2 separate regions of the Homo sapiens genome follow, and region 2 is linked to region 1. Evidence: promoter capture Hi-C in 16 types of primary human blood cells and fetal thymus (Javierre and others, 2016). All regions are on one chromosome and are shown on one strand. The core of a region is centred on a gene start or on the middle of the fragment in contact, and the rest is flanking DNA. Distances in the headings are between cores, read along the strand shown. Region 1 holds the start of NUP58 (nucleoporin 58). Region 2 overlaps CKAP2 (cytoskeleton associated protein 2).

Region 1 (7,355 bases), core at 2,265-4,764:
AAAAAAAACCCCACAGATCTTTAAACATTTAGTCTTAATTTAAAAGGTATTTTTAACAACATATTGCTACAATCAAAACTAAGTGAGATCACACACACAGAAACCTAAGTGAGCGCTACAAGCAAAAGAATATAGTATGTAATGGCTATATCCAGACAACATAGGTAGTACAACCATAAAAGGGGCATATATGCCAAAACATTTAGCTTAGCTGGTAGTAGTCTGATCGTATTGTTATTTTGACACTGTTGTGTGTATAATGTGGAGTAGGGTAAATGAGTATTTGGGGGATACTAAAACATTACTGCCGGCTGGGTGTGGTGGCTCACGCCTGTAATCCCAGCACCTTGGGATGCCAAGGTGGATGGATCACCTGAAGTCAGGAGTTTGAGACCAGCCTGGCCAACATGGTGAAACCCCATCTCTACTAAAAATACCAAAAATAAAAATAAAAAATTTAGCCGGGTGTGGTGGCGTGCCTGTAATCCCAGCTATTTGGGAGGCTGAGGCAGGAGAATTGCTTGAACCCGTAAGGTGGAGGTTGCAATGAGCCAAGATCACGCCATTGCACTCCAGGCTGGGTAACAAGAGTGAGACTGTCTTAAAAAAAAAAAAAAATACATATATATATATATATATATATATATATATATATATATAATCTTGACAACATAACTGAAGACATTATGAAGTATTACATAATGAAAGTTGAAAATACTGCCAAAGAAACACATCAAAATGAAATTTTTCTCTACCACAAAAGCAAGAGAGAAATTTTGGTGGCAGTGAAATTTACTAAATTCAAGAAAAGCAAAAGCTACCCTAAACTTGACCAATTATTGCCTCAAACCAATGTTATCTGCCAAGGACTTGATAGGATGTACTGTAGAAAAGCCAACTTGACTCAATCACATCTGGAATGTTATTTTAACTTGCCCAGCTTGCCCTAATGCAGACTTGGTAGCTAACATAATAGCTAAGATTTACTGAGCACTTAGCAAGTGCCAGACTTGATGCTAAATATTTAAATACTTCATCTCACTCATCAACTCAGGTAATATATTATACTCCTTTTCCAGATGTGAGAACTCCCCTAAAATGACCAACCTCAAGACATCAAATCACTAGGTGGCACTAGGGGCTGTCAGGCCTCCCAACCAGCACTCTAACAAATTTATGTCGGACAGTCTCCTCTTTCATTAATTTATCCAAGCCTCTCTAAAACTTGGGTAATTTTTTATAGCTTATTACTAATAACTCATTTGCTCAGTCATTCAAATTGTTATTAAAGCCCTTTTTCTATGCCAGGCACTGTCCTTGGGACTGACAATGAGGTGGGAAATTAAGACTCAGACCTTGCCCTCAGGCAGTTTCTAGTCAGTGAGAGACATAGGTATTAATTATTCTAGTGCTGAGATCTGACAACAAACAAGTTAACAATAAATATAACAAACTGATTACAATTGTGATCAGCACTCTAAGAGTACTAGGAGAATGGAAATCTCCCCTAGACTGACAGGTCAGAAAAGGCCTCTCTGGGGAAGAGACCATTTGATATTTGCAAGGAAGGGGCTGGCAAAGCCCACTTGAAAAGAGAAAAGGCCATGTTGCTAGGACAGGCTTTCTAAGATCAGGACCATGAGAGAAATATAAAAATTAATTCATCAAGTCATAAGCAACATTAAAAAAAAAAAGAAATAGAAAATATCAAAGTGCATCCCATGAAGTAAGGGTATCTTTCTCTGAAACTTCATTTCAGTTATTTAGGGTGGTAGTTGTGTGTTTGTTTTTAACAGTGGGTCTGCATAGCTAAAATAAAAAGATGGGCTCAAGATGAGTCCCGCTCAAGATGAGTCCCCAGAGGTTCCAGCAGAAGTGGACCTTGCAGACTATGGTAAGTTTTTTTTTCTTTTTTAAACTTCATTCTAACGATGGCGGGTAATGATTAAAGAGAGAGCAATGGGAATTTTGTTTTTCAATTACTCTGGCTAAAATGTGGCAGAACAGATTGAAGAAGTTGATTGGAGTAGTTTTCATCTAAAACAAGAAAGACAGCTGGTTAAAAATCTGACAAGAATCAAAATTATTTTCATAAGAATGTAAGGATCAAGAGAGCAAGACTCTTAATACCTAAAACAGAGCCTTGCACATGGGAATCTGTCCAATAAATATTTGTTCCACGAATGACAATAGCCTAAGCAGGGTTGTGGAACTGGAAATAAAGACAAACAGAAATGGCAGAAGTAACATTATCAGAACCTGTTGTTGAGCGAGTAGAGTAAGAATAACGGAGGTATGGATGAAAATTCAAATTTCTGAATTGACTGTGTAGTCCGTGGTTCCTCCTCCCTCCCTTTTTAAACTGCAGGTCATGCTTAAGTATTTGCCTTTTAAATCTACAGCCACATCTTTTAAGCTTCAGGAAGTATCTTGTTGACAGTGTGCACACTCCTTAACTTTATGAACCCCTCCACCTTTATCTTAAAAAAAATTGAGTTCTAAAGCTTAAATCTCTCATTAAAATGTCTCACCACTTTGTTTCTTTCTGGATAGTTATGTTTTTGTCGCCACCTGAACTAATGGGTTGCACAAAAACAAGGAACATGCTACCTACGTTTTGTAATTTAAGTAAAAGACAAATTGAGTTATTACAACACAACATTCTCGCATCAGATATACTAATCTGCACATACTGCAGAAAATTACCACTAATAAACACTGTAAAAAAGTGTTTTTGTTTTTTTTAACAAAAACAGATAAGGTCCCATGTGGCACAAAAGCTTGAAAAGCTGGTTAAAAACCACAAAGTTATTAAAACACCGTCATATCCAAAACCGCAAATGCTGCAATGAAATCGGAATTATCTATCATAAAACTCCACAGTATGCTATAATTTCATTCATTCATTCAATGTTCATTCTATGCCTAAGACTGACACATCGCTAAAGCTCCGGGGTAGACCCCAAGGCCCTTCCACGCAGTCAAGACCCCACTAGGTCCAAATAATGCCTGAACTATACGTGGATTCTGGAAACCTCACAGCACAGAACCCATCCCGCCCTCCACTTCACCAGGCCGCGCTGGGCCCGGGTACCGCGGCGAGAGGCCTACGACGCCGGGCGGCTAGATTAAGTGCTTCTCTCCAGCCCCACTGGGAAGGAAGCCAGAGGGAAGAGACAGGATGGGGACACCAAGGGAGCTTTGCGGGGGTGGGGGTGGGGGTGAATCCGGCCCAGGAAGGCGAGAAAGTGCGGTTACCTAGACGCTCCCGTTCCGAAGGAGAAAACGCCGCCTGTGCTGGTCCCGCCGGCGGCCACGGTGGTGGAGCCCAGAGTCCCGGACCCGAAGGAGAACCCTGTGGACATGTCTGGCCAGGGCTCGACGCCGTCAGCAAGGCGAAATGGGTCTGGGACACTTCTCTCGCCTCAAAGCCGAGGCGGGCCGGGCAGCATCTCTCTCGCCCGGCACGGACCTGGCGGGAACTTCCAGCCCCAACGGCGGCGAAGGCAAGGCTGAGGGGGTGGAGCAACCACGCAAAAGTACGCCCGGCGCTCGCCGCGCGCACGTAGCCCGCCGGAAGTGTAACCGTCACGCAATGAGCCCTGGTACGTGAGTGGGGGACGGCGAGCCGCGCAAGGTACGCTGGGACCAGGCGAGAATAGGCGTACTGCCTAATCTCTTAAAGGAGTAGGCTCCCAGAGTTTAAAAACAGTAAAACCATTTCTGTCATTTTTTAGTTCTTCTATCGTAGCATCTGTACTGACATAATCCGCACTTTAGGGTGATGAATGTCAATTGCTACTTCTATCTAGCCTCCTGCCAAAATTGATGCTCAGAATCGCAGAATCGGGGAGGTCCCTCCTGAGCATCTCTAAGCTCCCCACTCAGAAAAGGAGGCGGCTTCGGGCTTTCGTTGGCTGCCGCCCCATCCCTAAGAAGGAAGGGGAGCGTGTCTGCTTCCTGAAGGTTCGGAAATCAATCGAAAATAATCCATGCAACCGTCCCACGACGTGAGCCCCACCCCTGCGCCCCAGGCCTCGCGGAGCCAGTTGGTCGCAGTTGTTGCGAGCCCGACGCCCAGCCCCGAAGGGGGCCCAGAAGAGCGTCCCAGGCGTCCGTGGGGTGGCCGGCTGTGGTCCTGGCGCCCAGAAGTGGCCAGGCCCGCTGGATTTCCTGGGATGCGGTCAAGTCCACAAATACTGTCCGTGCATCCTGATGCTGGAGGGCGGGACCTTGGGCCGAGCGAGTGTGGCTCCGCCAGAAGGGCCCTCGGACACAACCGGTGCTGGAGGAACTACAAAGTGGAAGGATTAGGAAACGCACAGGAACATGTACGAAAGAAGGCGAAATGTGAGGTGTAACTTACATTTCTAGGATAACTCAAGAAAAATTCGCGTTTAAAGAGAACCTCTCTGGCGAAGCATCAGGAAAGGCTTCCTGGTGGTGGTGCATTCGAGGGTTGTCATCATAGTGTTAGTTTTTATTTTTCCCTCAGGGATTGTTACATTACTCCCCCAAATGGTTTTCCTACTCGTGATCTCTAACAAAATCCATCCCATAAGCAACCCCCGGATTTATGATCTAAAAAGCCCAGTGGCTCTTTAGTTTGGCACTTGATGACCTCCGTATGATTAGTCTTTCTAACCTCATCTCACAGTTCTCCCTAATTCAGTACTTTAATCTTCCGTTGAGCTTGGGCATTGCCACCAGCTGTGGACTGAACTATTTCCCTCCTCCCCCAATCCATATGTTAAAGCCCTACCCCACCCCAATATGTTGGTATTTGGAGATGGAGCCTTTGGGAGGTAATTCAATTTAGATGAGGTCACCTTGGTGGGTCGCCCATGGCGAGATTAGTGCCCTTATGAGAAAAAACAACGAAGAGCTTGTTCTCCTCTGTGTGCCATGTGAGGACAGAGCAAGAAGGGGCTTTCACCTGGAACCCAAACTGCCCCATCTTTATCTGGGACTTAGCCTCCAGAATTGAGAGAAGTAAATGTCTGTTGTTATAGCCACCTCAGTCTATGGTATTTTGTTGTATCAGCCAAGCAGACTAATACACCACCTCTGTGTTTGTATAATTAAAAAGAAACGTACATTTTATTTTGTTTTTTAAATTTAATTTATATTTTACTTTATTTTGAGACAGAGTCTCGCTCTGTTGCCCAGGCTGGAATACAGTGGTGCCATCTCGGCTCACTGCAACCTCCGTCTCCTGAGTTCAAGCGATTCTCCTGCCTCAGCCTCCCAAGTAACTGGGATCACAGGCGCACGCCACCACGCCCGGTTAATTTCTGTATTTTTCAGTAGAGATGGGTTTTCACCATGTTGGCCAGGCTGGTCTTGAACTCCTGGCCTCAAGCGATCTGCCCACCTCGGCCTCCCAAAGTGCTGGGATTACAGGCGTAAGCCACTGTGCCCGGCCATAACATTTTAAACGTCATAGAAGTCATAATGGGAATGATAAAAAAGAAAAAAGGGATATATTTGGATTAAGATATAAATAAAAACTTCATAGTTATCGAACAGGAGGCAAAAATAAAAGATTGTTGTGAGTTTTAAAGCTTCGGTGATATAGAGAAAGCTATTTTCAGTGATGGCTATAGGGTGGTCAGTAAGAGGATTGTTCACATAAAGTCTAGGAGACTTCCTTTTGACTGAAAAAAAAAAAGATCCTGATGATTTTTATGGGAAGATAGAAAGGCACTCCCTATGTCTTTTGATTTTCTCGTGTATTCTTTCCAAAACTATTGAAGAATACCAACCTACAATTAGTAATAGCAAAATGGCTGGCACTTAAATATATAATAATGAACAAGACTTGTAATATTCACAGGAAAGAAAGAACATGTAAAAATATCATAGGGACTAATTTCCTAATAGGGGAAACTGGGTGTGAGGAATATGAGCACACTATGTAATAATTCTGTAAATCTGTAACTTTTTTTTTTTTTGGATGGAGTCTCACTCTGACACCAGGCTGGAGTGCACTGGCTAGATCCTGGCTCACTGCAACCTCCGACTCCCTGGTTCAAGCGAGTCTCCTGCCTCAGCCTCCTAAGTAGCTGAGATGACAGGCATGCGCCACCATGCCCAGCTAATTTTTGTATTTTTAGTAGAGCTGGAGTTTCACCATGTTGGCCAGGATGATCTCAATCTCCTGACCTTGTGATCTGCCTGCCTCGGCCTCCCAAAGTACTGGGATTACAGGCGTAAGCCACCGCGCCCAGCCACATCTATAACTGTTTTGAAGCTGAACGTTTATAAAAGAAATAAAGGAAGTCTGACTTAGATTAAAGTTTGGGTTTTGGGGGAAGCCATTCCAATTAACAAGCAAACTATCCTTTCAACTTTATCAAAATTTTAGTGTAGCATTTCTTGCCTTGTATCTGGCAGAATATTTTAAGTTATACTACATAATAAATCCCCAAATCACTCAAGGAGGAGCACTGCAGAGACAAAATCTGGAATATCTGATGAGCAGTATTGCAATCTACCACTAGATGCACTAAGTATAAGACTAAATCTTGGAGACCCCTTCTCATCTCATATACCTTGTGCCGCTTGTCCTATTAGTGAAGAAAGAAATTACATCCTTACATTCTACAGAAATGAAACTCCAAAGAAAGCAGCTTTCAATAAGCTCAATGGTTTGGTTAGTGAATGGAAAACAGTAAAATAGCAGTAACTGAGCATTACGCATACATAAGTCTGAATCCTATCTGCAACTGAGCAGAACCATGGAGCACTGGAATCTGGCTTAACCTTCCTGACCTAGTCTAGGTAGAGTAACAAATCCTATCCCAAAGGATCTTCTAAATATTACGCTTTTTAACATTAGAGGACTTGAACCTATGTGTCAGTTCTATGTGAATTGCTGCTTCCAGGGATGAAGCAAGTGCTTCAGATTCTAAATTCTAGAGTAGGCCATCTTGTCTTTCCTTGCTTCTTATATTGTAAGCATTCTGTTAGAGAACTGCATCTTTTGCTGATTTGCCAGCAGGATGATGACATTGTTAATGTCATAATCAAACTGAATTATCCAAACAGAAATAGCACTGTAAAAAATTTACTTTTTTTTTTTCTTCCTTTTTGAGACAGGGTCTGGCTCTGTGCCCAGGCTGGAGTGCAGTGGCACCATCTTGGCTCACTGCAACCTCTGCCTGTCTGGCTCAAGCGATCCTCCCACCTCAGCCACCCGAGTAGCTCGGACTACATAAAGGTGTCCACCACCATGCCCGGCTAATTTGTTTATTTGTAAAGATGGGTTTTCACCGTGTTGCCCAGGCTAAAACTTCTAATTTGTGTTTGCATTAACATATCTAAAATAGGTTTGCTTTGGTGGGGGTGTTCAG
Region 2 (7,355 bases), core at 4,856-7,355, about 27 Mb before region 1:
AATATTCCAAAATCCAACAAAAAACATCTTCAATTACTTCTGGTCCCAAGCATTTTGGATAAGGGATACTCAACCTGTATATTTATATGAACTCAATGCAAAATGTAGTCAGTTAAAGGCTAATAAGCTCACAATTAATGAATGAAGCAGTGTATCTCGCAATTAAATAATTGTTAAAATAACCTCACAGTTAATGTTAAGTCAACATAGTATCACCAACATCACCTGGTCAAAAAGACTGACAATATAATTTAATGAAATAATGCTTATGAAGGTAATTTGCAAACTATAAAATGCTAAGCAAATATAAAGACTCTACCTCATTAATCAAGTTCAGGCATTCAGAAAATGTGTTGTTTACTTTTTCAGTAAATAATCTTTGTTCATCTTCTTCTGCCATGGTAGTCCAAAAAGACCCAACTGGTTTTTCATTTTGTCCTGCAGGCTCATGCTGAGTAACTACTGAATTAGGGGGCCTTTTTAGCACTCTTCCTTTGCCAGCTTTCCACTCACTCAGACGAGCTCTATAGTTAGAAGCAGATATAAACGTTACTTTGAAATTGCTGACAGAACTCTGTCAAATAAAGTTAAAAGAAAAAATCATATTTTTAAGTAATCTTACTTTAATGGCATATATAGTTCACAAGCTTGAAGAAATATTAAACATATCAACGTCAATTATGCTCAATGATTCCATGAATGCATTTTTTGATTTGAGATTATAAAGTATTTCCCAATTATTATTAAGCATTTACCTTAGATTTTAAAAAGCAACCTTATAAAACATACTCAAACACAAAAACTTTTAGGTCATATTGTTCCACAATATAAATTTGCCTGCATATGACAGAAGAGAAACCATGAAAGAAAATTCTAATGCAGTCAAGGAAATTATAATCCAAATCTACAAACAGTACTTTATTGAAAACTAATGTAATAAAGAAAATTATATCTACTTACTTTCTCTCTTCCGAGGTTTCTTTGGGCTGAGCTGATCTACTATCAACAATTGCTTTTCCTGCAGTATGTCTTCGCTGGTCAACGGGCTCTGACTTTTCCATCAGTTTATCATTAGACAATGAAGCAGGCCTGGCTATAACTTCAGATGCTATGGATCTTGATAGAGTCTTATTTCTTATTATACCTTGAGAAGAACTGGTTTTGACACTAGATAAAGCTGTTTTTGATTGTAATAGTTCTTTTTCATGAGGCCCTTTCCGGATTGTAACATTGGCAGAAGTTCTACTGATGCCTTGTTTCACAGTGTCCCGGGTATTACTGTGATGACTTCTAATAGGAGGTCGCACAAGTTGTGTGTTCTGAGATGTAGTGCTCACAAATTTAGTAGTGGCAGTCATATTGGAGGATCTATTACTTTTCACTGTTACACTGCTGGTGTTTACAGGCTGAGGTTTTGTGGCTTTAGGTATAGTGGCTGAAAGTTTCTTTGTTGCTGCAGAACTCTCATCTTTGACTTGTAGAGGTTTTCTAAATGAATTAATCTTAGACTGAACAATCTGGCCACGATAAGATCCAAGCACAGGTTTCTTGGGCATGTTAGCATCTTGCTTTTGTTTTTCTGTAGTCATTTGTTTCTTTTTACTATTGTTTTTAAGGTGAAATGCCTGGCTTAATGTCATATGTTGACTTTGGGGATCATCTTCAGTTAGTAACAAATGCGGAGTTTGATTACTATCCTTAGGTTTATGTGTGTCAATTACTACAGTTGAATTGGTTAGTTCATTTGAAGGTTTTAAAGGAATACAATGTTTCCCCACCACTGTATTATTTTTGCTCTCTGCAGGTCTCTTCATGTTTTCTTTATCAGCCTGAAAGAATTATTTAAGAAAAGTGTTTAGGAAAGGCAAAATGGAAAAGGGGACAGTTTAAGAGTGCTATGTCCACATCTTACCATTTTTGTTTTAAGTTTCAGCACTTTAGTCCCTTCTTGAACTTGGTCCTCAGATGTCACAACTCTCTGATCTCTACTACTTAAAAACAAACAAACAAAATGATCAATCAATCCTGTACCAAGGAGGCTTCCTTTTGGGGAGGAAGAAGAGGGCAATGTTAACAATTAACTGACTTACTAATTTTAAATTTAAAAAAGACCTGAGTTGAAATTTGTCCTAAGCGGCCAGGCGCGGTGGCTCATGCCTGTAATCCCAGCACTTTGGGAGGCCGAGGTGGGCAGATCACGAGGTCAGGAGATCGAGACCATCCTGACTAACACAGTGAAACCCCGTCTCTACTAAAAATACAAAAAATTAGCCGGGCATGGTGGCGGGCGCTTGTAGTCCTGTAGTCCCAGCTACTAGGGAGGCTGAGGAAGGAGAATGGCATGAACCCGGGAGGCGGAGTTCGCAGTGAGCCAAGATCGAGCCACTGCACTCCAGCCTGGGTGACAGAGAGAGACTCTGTCTCAAAAAAAAATAGTGTAAACAAATGGCTGAGGAATTTAAAGATATTTTCTAAAAGTCCTAACACTCTCTGCCCATAGAATTTGTAAATACTTAATAATCTTATTTCAAATCATTCTCAAGTCATTCAAACAAGTCTTCAAATAACCTTTAGTAAGTAATACCTCCTTGGGTTAGTTTTAAGTACTTAGTAACAGATGTACTACATTGAAAATACTTTTATTAAAGAGCCCTCCCAGAAGTGATCCAAAAATTACCATATGCCATTCACAGCTTAATTTATATTAGGATACATTAAGAATATGCACTGCTGGTTGTGGTGGCTCATGCCTGTAATAGCAGCACTTTGGGAGGCCGAGGTGGGGGGATTACTTGAGCTCAGGAGTTCGAGAGCAGCCTGGGCAACACGGCAAAACCCCATCTCTACAAAAAAATAAAAAATTAGTTGGGTGTGGTGGTGGGTGCCATAGTCCCAGCTACTTGGGAGGCTGGGGTGGAGGACTGCTTGAGCCTGGGAGTTGAGGCAGTGGGCCAAGATCCCGTCACTGCACTAGAGGCTGAGTGACACAGAATGAGATCATCTCTCAAAAAAAAGAACGTTAGTTTCTAGGCGGTATTGCAAAGAAAATCCCTCCTCAAGAAACTGACTTAACTTATTTTTACAGCTATAAACTGGCTAAGGCAGACTGTGAGCATCTCTTAGCAAGTGATTTTAACAATTTTGTGTACTATAACGATAGGAAAAAATACGGTCAATTAGACATGCCATTGATTTTAAGACAGATCCTAAGTTCAGAGATCACATTAAAATGCGTGATCTCTCATTCTCTGAAAAAAAAAATGAGGCCAGGAACAGTGGGTCACACCTGTAATCCTAGCACTCTGGGTAGAGAAGGTGGGCAGATCACCTCAGGTCAGGAGTTTGAGACCAGCCTGGCCAACACGGCGAAACCCTGTCTCTACTAAAATCAAAAATATTGGCCAGGCATGGTGGCAAATGCTTGTAATCCCAGCTACCCTGGAGGCTGAGGCAGGAGAATCGCTTGAACCCACGAGGCAGAGGTTGCAGTGAGCTGAGATCGCGCCACTGCACTATAGCCTAGGCGACAGAGCAAGGCTCCGTCTCAAAAAAACAAAACAAAACAAAATATATATATATATATTTTACATTTGACATAATTTAGTAGTTAATAATTTTGCTTACATTGCCTTTCATATCTATTTGTTCTGTCAGCTTGGAGAAGGAACAGAACTTTGACACAACCTGTACTATACATTTTGAACAATGGTGAAGGAAGATCAAAATGTGCCACTTAACAGGGTATCTTAGTAGCTAACTGCCAGCTAACAAAACAAAACTCAGGATGACAAGAAGAACCCATCTTACTCACCTGTCCAGTGGGGAGACTTAATCCTATTCTGTCTTATTATAAAACTGCCCTCAGAAGGGTTATCGGAAATGAGTCTTAGGATATCTATACTTTAGAGATTGTAAAATATAACTGTTTAATTCTGAAAAGCTGCAACACAGGTTGGTTGTCTTATTTAATGATTCACTGCTGAGGTGATAACATTTAAATTGACATCTGTTTTCCTTTTTTTTTTTTTTGAGACAAAGTCTCGCTCTTGTCACCCAGGCTGGAGTGCGATGGCCTGATCTTGGCTCACTGCAACCTCCGCCTCCCAGGTTCAAGCGATTCTTCTGCCTCGGCCCTCCCCGGAATTACAGGCGCCTGACACCACACCCGGCTAATTTTTATATTTTTAGTAGAGACGGGGTTTCACCATGTTGGCCAGGCTGGTCTAGAACTCTTGACCTCAAGTGATACACCCGCCTCAGCCTCCCAAAGTGCTGGGATTACAGGCATGAGCCACTGCACCCAGCCAACATCTGTTTTCTGAAAGGAATAAATGTAGTACTTAAGCCACATGAAGCGTTTTAGAATTTTCTTTTCTTCCTATTAAGAGTATTATAAACCCCTGACCTTGTTGGATTCTTTATTTAAATAAGTGGTTGAGAGTCACTGTCTGAATCCATATTATCTCTACTTATTCCCTAGTAATTTCATTCCATCCTAAGGTTTTTAAGTAAATATCATCTGTATACTAATCAATTCCTGAGTTTATGCTTCCAGCCCCAACCCCTCCCCTGAACTTCAGACACACAATTATTTGGCATATCTGCTTGGATGTCTGGTTGGTACCTCAAACATAGTCAAAACAGAACTCCTAATTCCCCAGCTCCTCCTTCAGGCTTCCTATTTCAGTATACGGTTATCACCATTCATTTACTTATTCAAATAAAAAACCTAGGATCACCTTTTTGTCTTAAACAAAGAAATAAAAGATTTATTTGTGAAGGATAAACTGTTTATTCCAAACTAAAGCAACTTATTAATATAAAGTTAGAAATTATTTTTAAAATTTTAGAATGCCAAACTTACACAAAGTTGCAAAAATATAAACAGGTCAAAGAATATCTGTACACTCTTTACCCAGGATCCACCTATTGTTAAAATTTTTATCCCATTTGCGTTATCATTTCCACTCTCTGAATATGTGTGTGGGTGGTATATACAATTTTGTTTACCTGAGACAATTTTTTTTTTTTTTGAGACGGAGTCTCGCTCTGTCACCCAGGCTGGAGTGCAATGGCACGATCTCGGCTCACTGCAACCTCCATCTCCCAGGTTCAAGCGATTCTCCTGCCTCAGCCTCCCCAGTAGCTGGGATTACAAGCACCCACCACCATGCCTGGCTAATTTTTTGTATTTTTAGTAGAGACGGGGTTTCACTGTGTTAGCCAGGCTGGTCTTGATCTCCTGACCTCGTGATCTGCCCACCTCAGCCTCCTAAAGTGCTGGGATTACAGGTGTAAGCCACAGCACCCAGCCTAAGCCTGTAAGGATGTTATTACTGGTTATCCCTAGAGAGTGAGGGGACCTTTTGCCTTTCTGCTTCATCTACTTTCATGGGTTTTTGTTTTTGCTACAGCTATGTACTATCTAAGATATTTTAACAAAATAATAAAGATATTTCTGTGGAGGGTTGAGACTACAACTAGTAATCTCTAAGCATTTGGGAGGGCCACCCAACCCTTCCCTGATGAACTCCCCCATACACTGAGTAAAAAGCTTTGCTAAATAATAGAAAGACTGACCTTTGTGTGGTGTAAACAGTAAGTTGATAATCTAGTCTATGCACATACTTTGCTTTATAATTGTTTTTTTCTCTTAGACTGTGAATTAATTTACGTAGAAAACGATAATCTAGGCCGGGCGCGGTGGCTCATCCTTGTAATCACAGCACTTTCAGAGGCTGAGGTGGGCGGATCTCAAGGTCAGGAGTCCAAGACCAGCCCGGCCAACATAGTGAAACCCGGTCTCTGTTTAAAATACAAAAATTAGCAGGGAATGGTGGCACTTGCCTGTAGTCAGTCCCAGGTATTTGGGAAGCTGAGGCAGGAGATTCACTTGAACCCAGAAGGTGGAGGCTGCAGTGAGCCAAGATCACGCTACTGCACTCCAACCTGGCAACAGAGTGAGACTCTGTCTCAAAAAAAAAAAAATTAATAAAACGATGATCTAATGCTGCACCATCCAATAAAGTAGCCACTAGCCAATGTGGCTACTGAGTGCTTGAAATGTGGATAGACCAAATGGAAATGTCCTGTAACTGTAAAATAGACACCAGATTTTAAAGACGTTGTACCACAAAAAGACGTAAAATAATATGTAAGCAGTTTTTCTAAATGTGGCTACTAGAAAATTTAAAATTACAGATATGGCTTACTTTACATTTTCATTGGACAGATCTGATACAATTTTACAGAAGTGAAAAGAAATAAACTTGACCTTACCTGGATAACATCTCATTTTCCTGCTTGTATGCAAAAAGCGTTTTTCTTCTCAACAGATGTTCCTTGAGTTTTTGTCTTCTTTGCTCTAGATAACAAAGGTAAGAGCTACAAGTCAATATTAGTTAAAACATCGATAACGGCAAATAAATCTTGTTGACTAAATGAAGAGTTTACTTCCAAAGCTGGTTCCACCTGAGGTCACATCTATATAACAGAAAATTCTCCAATTCAATATTGCCTTTGAGAAATCACCTTAGAAGAGACTGTTACCACAACAGGTCCCCAAAACCCCTCTGCATAAGAATCACATTCTCTACTCCCTGTGAAAAATCTGGAGAACATCATTTTCTACATACAGCTCCTGCTAGCCAAGCTTTAAGAAACTAAATGGTAGAAGTGAGGCACTAGACTCGAAAGTTCTAATTTACCAGAACTGGGTTAGATGAGAATTACTTTCTTCTGCTTTCCCGTGTGTAGAATAAGGGAATAACAATATTAGTTTTGAAGACCCAACCAACCCTCGGTTTCCATAAAGTCGAAGGAGAAGCTGTGAAATTGGAAATAACACATGATGCGACCCCAGCCCTGCAGAAATTCGCTAGGGACCTAAGAGGCGGAGGACCCAGCGCAGGCGCAGTCGGTCCCTGAACCTGTGCAGCCCCGCCCCCAAGCGGACCCAGGGTCTCCGACACCGACCCCGGCCTGAGGCCCGCGCGTTTCCCCTCGCCTAACGGATTCCTTCTTAGGAGGGCCCATCCCAGCCAGCAGCGACCGCACAGTAACACCACGCAGCGGTTCCTGTTTTTATGATCCGTTCCACAAGGCCAAGAATGAGGCAGGGCGAGGCCGACGCCGCGTTCAGGGATCTCACAGAGCGGGGGAGAGGTGAAGCGCGCCAGCGCGGCCCCGAGCCCCGACCGCCGGGCCCGCGCCCGCCACCGCCACCGCCACCGCCACCGCCACCGCCACCGCGGCCTTCACCTTTGAATGCGGACTGCGCCCTCTGACTCGGGGGCAGCTGCAGGTCCTGGGGCACGGCCGGTGTGCTCATCGTAGCCTCGGGTCGGGGGATGCGT

The links. Contacts are between HindIII fragments. The CHiCAGO score rates a contact against its expected background, and 5 or more counts as called.
Region 2: a contact is called between a fragment that was not itself captured here and the fragment with the promoter of NUP58 in region 1, in 1 of 17 cell types (non-activated CD4 T cells). The highest score is 6.2, in non-activated CD4 T cells.

Annotation. Positions count from the first base shown.
Region 1 is chr13:25,297,784-25,305,138 of GRCh38, reverse strand. It overlaps NUP58 (nucleoporin 58), which reads right to left and starts at 3,514. Exons shown (of 16, transcript NM_014089.4): 1 at 3,259-3,514. The coding sequence starts at 3,365. RefSeq lists enhancers at 3,219-3,268, 3,379-3,458, 3,619-3,858. The HindIII fragment of the contact is 2,784 bases long and covers 2,783-5,566 here.
Region 2 is chr13:52,455,532-52,462,886 of GRCh38, reverse strand. CKAP2 (cytoskeleton associated protein 2) reads right to left here. Exons shown (of 9, transcript NM_018204.5): 1 at 7,261-7,355; 2 at 6,280-6,364; 3 at 1,913-1,988; 4 at 961-1,829; 5 at 320-524. The coding sequence starts at 7,330. Among named protein-coding and RNA genes, the nearest start is that of CKAP2, 3.7 kb to the right of the region's middle. The HindIII fragment of the contact is 1,098 bases long and covers 5,557-6,654 here.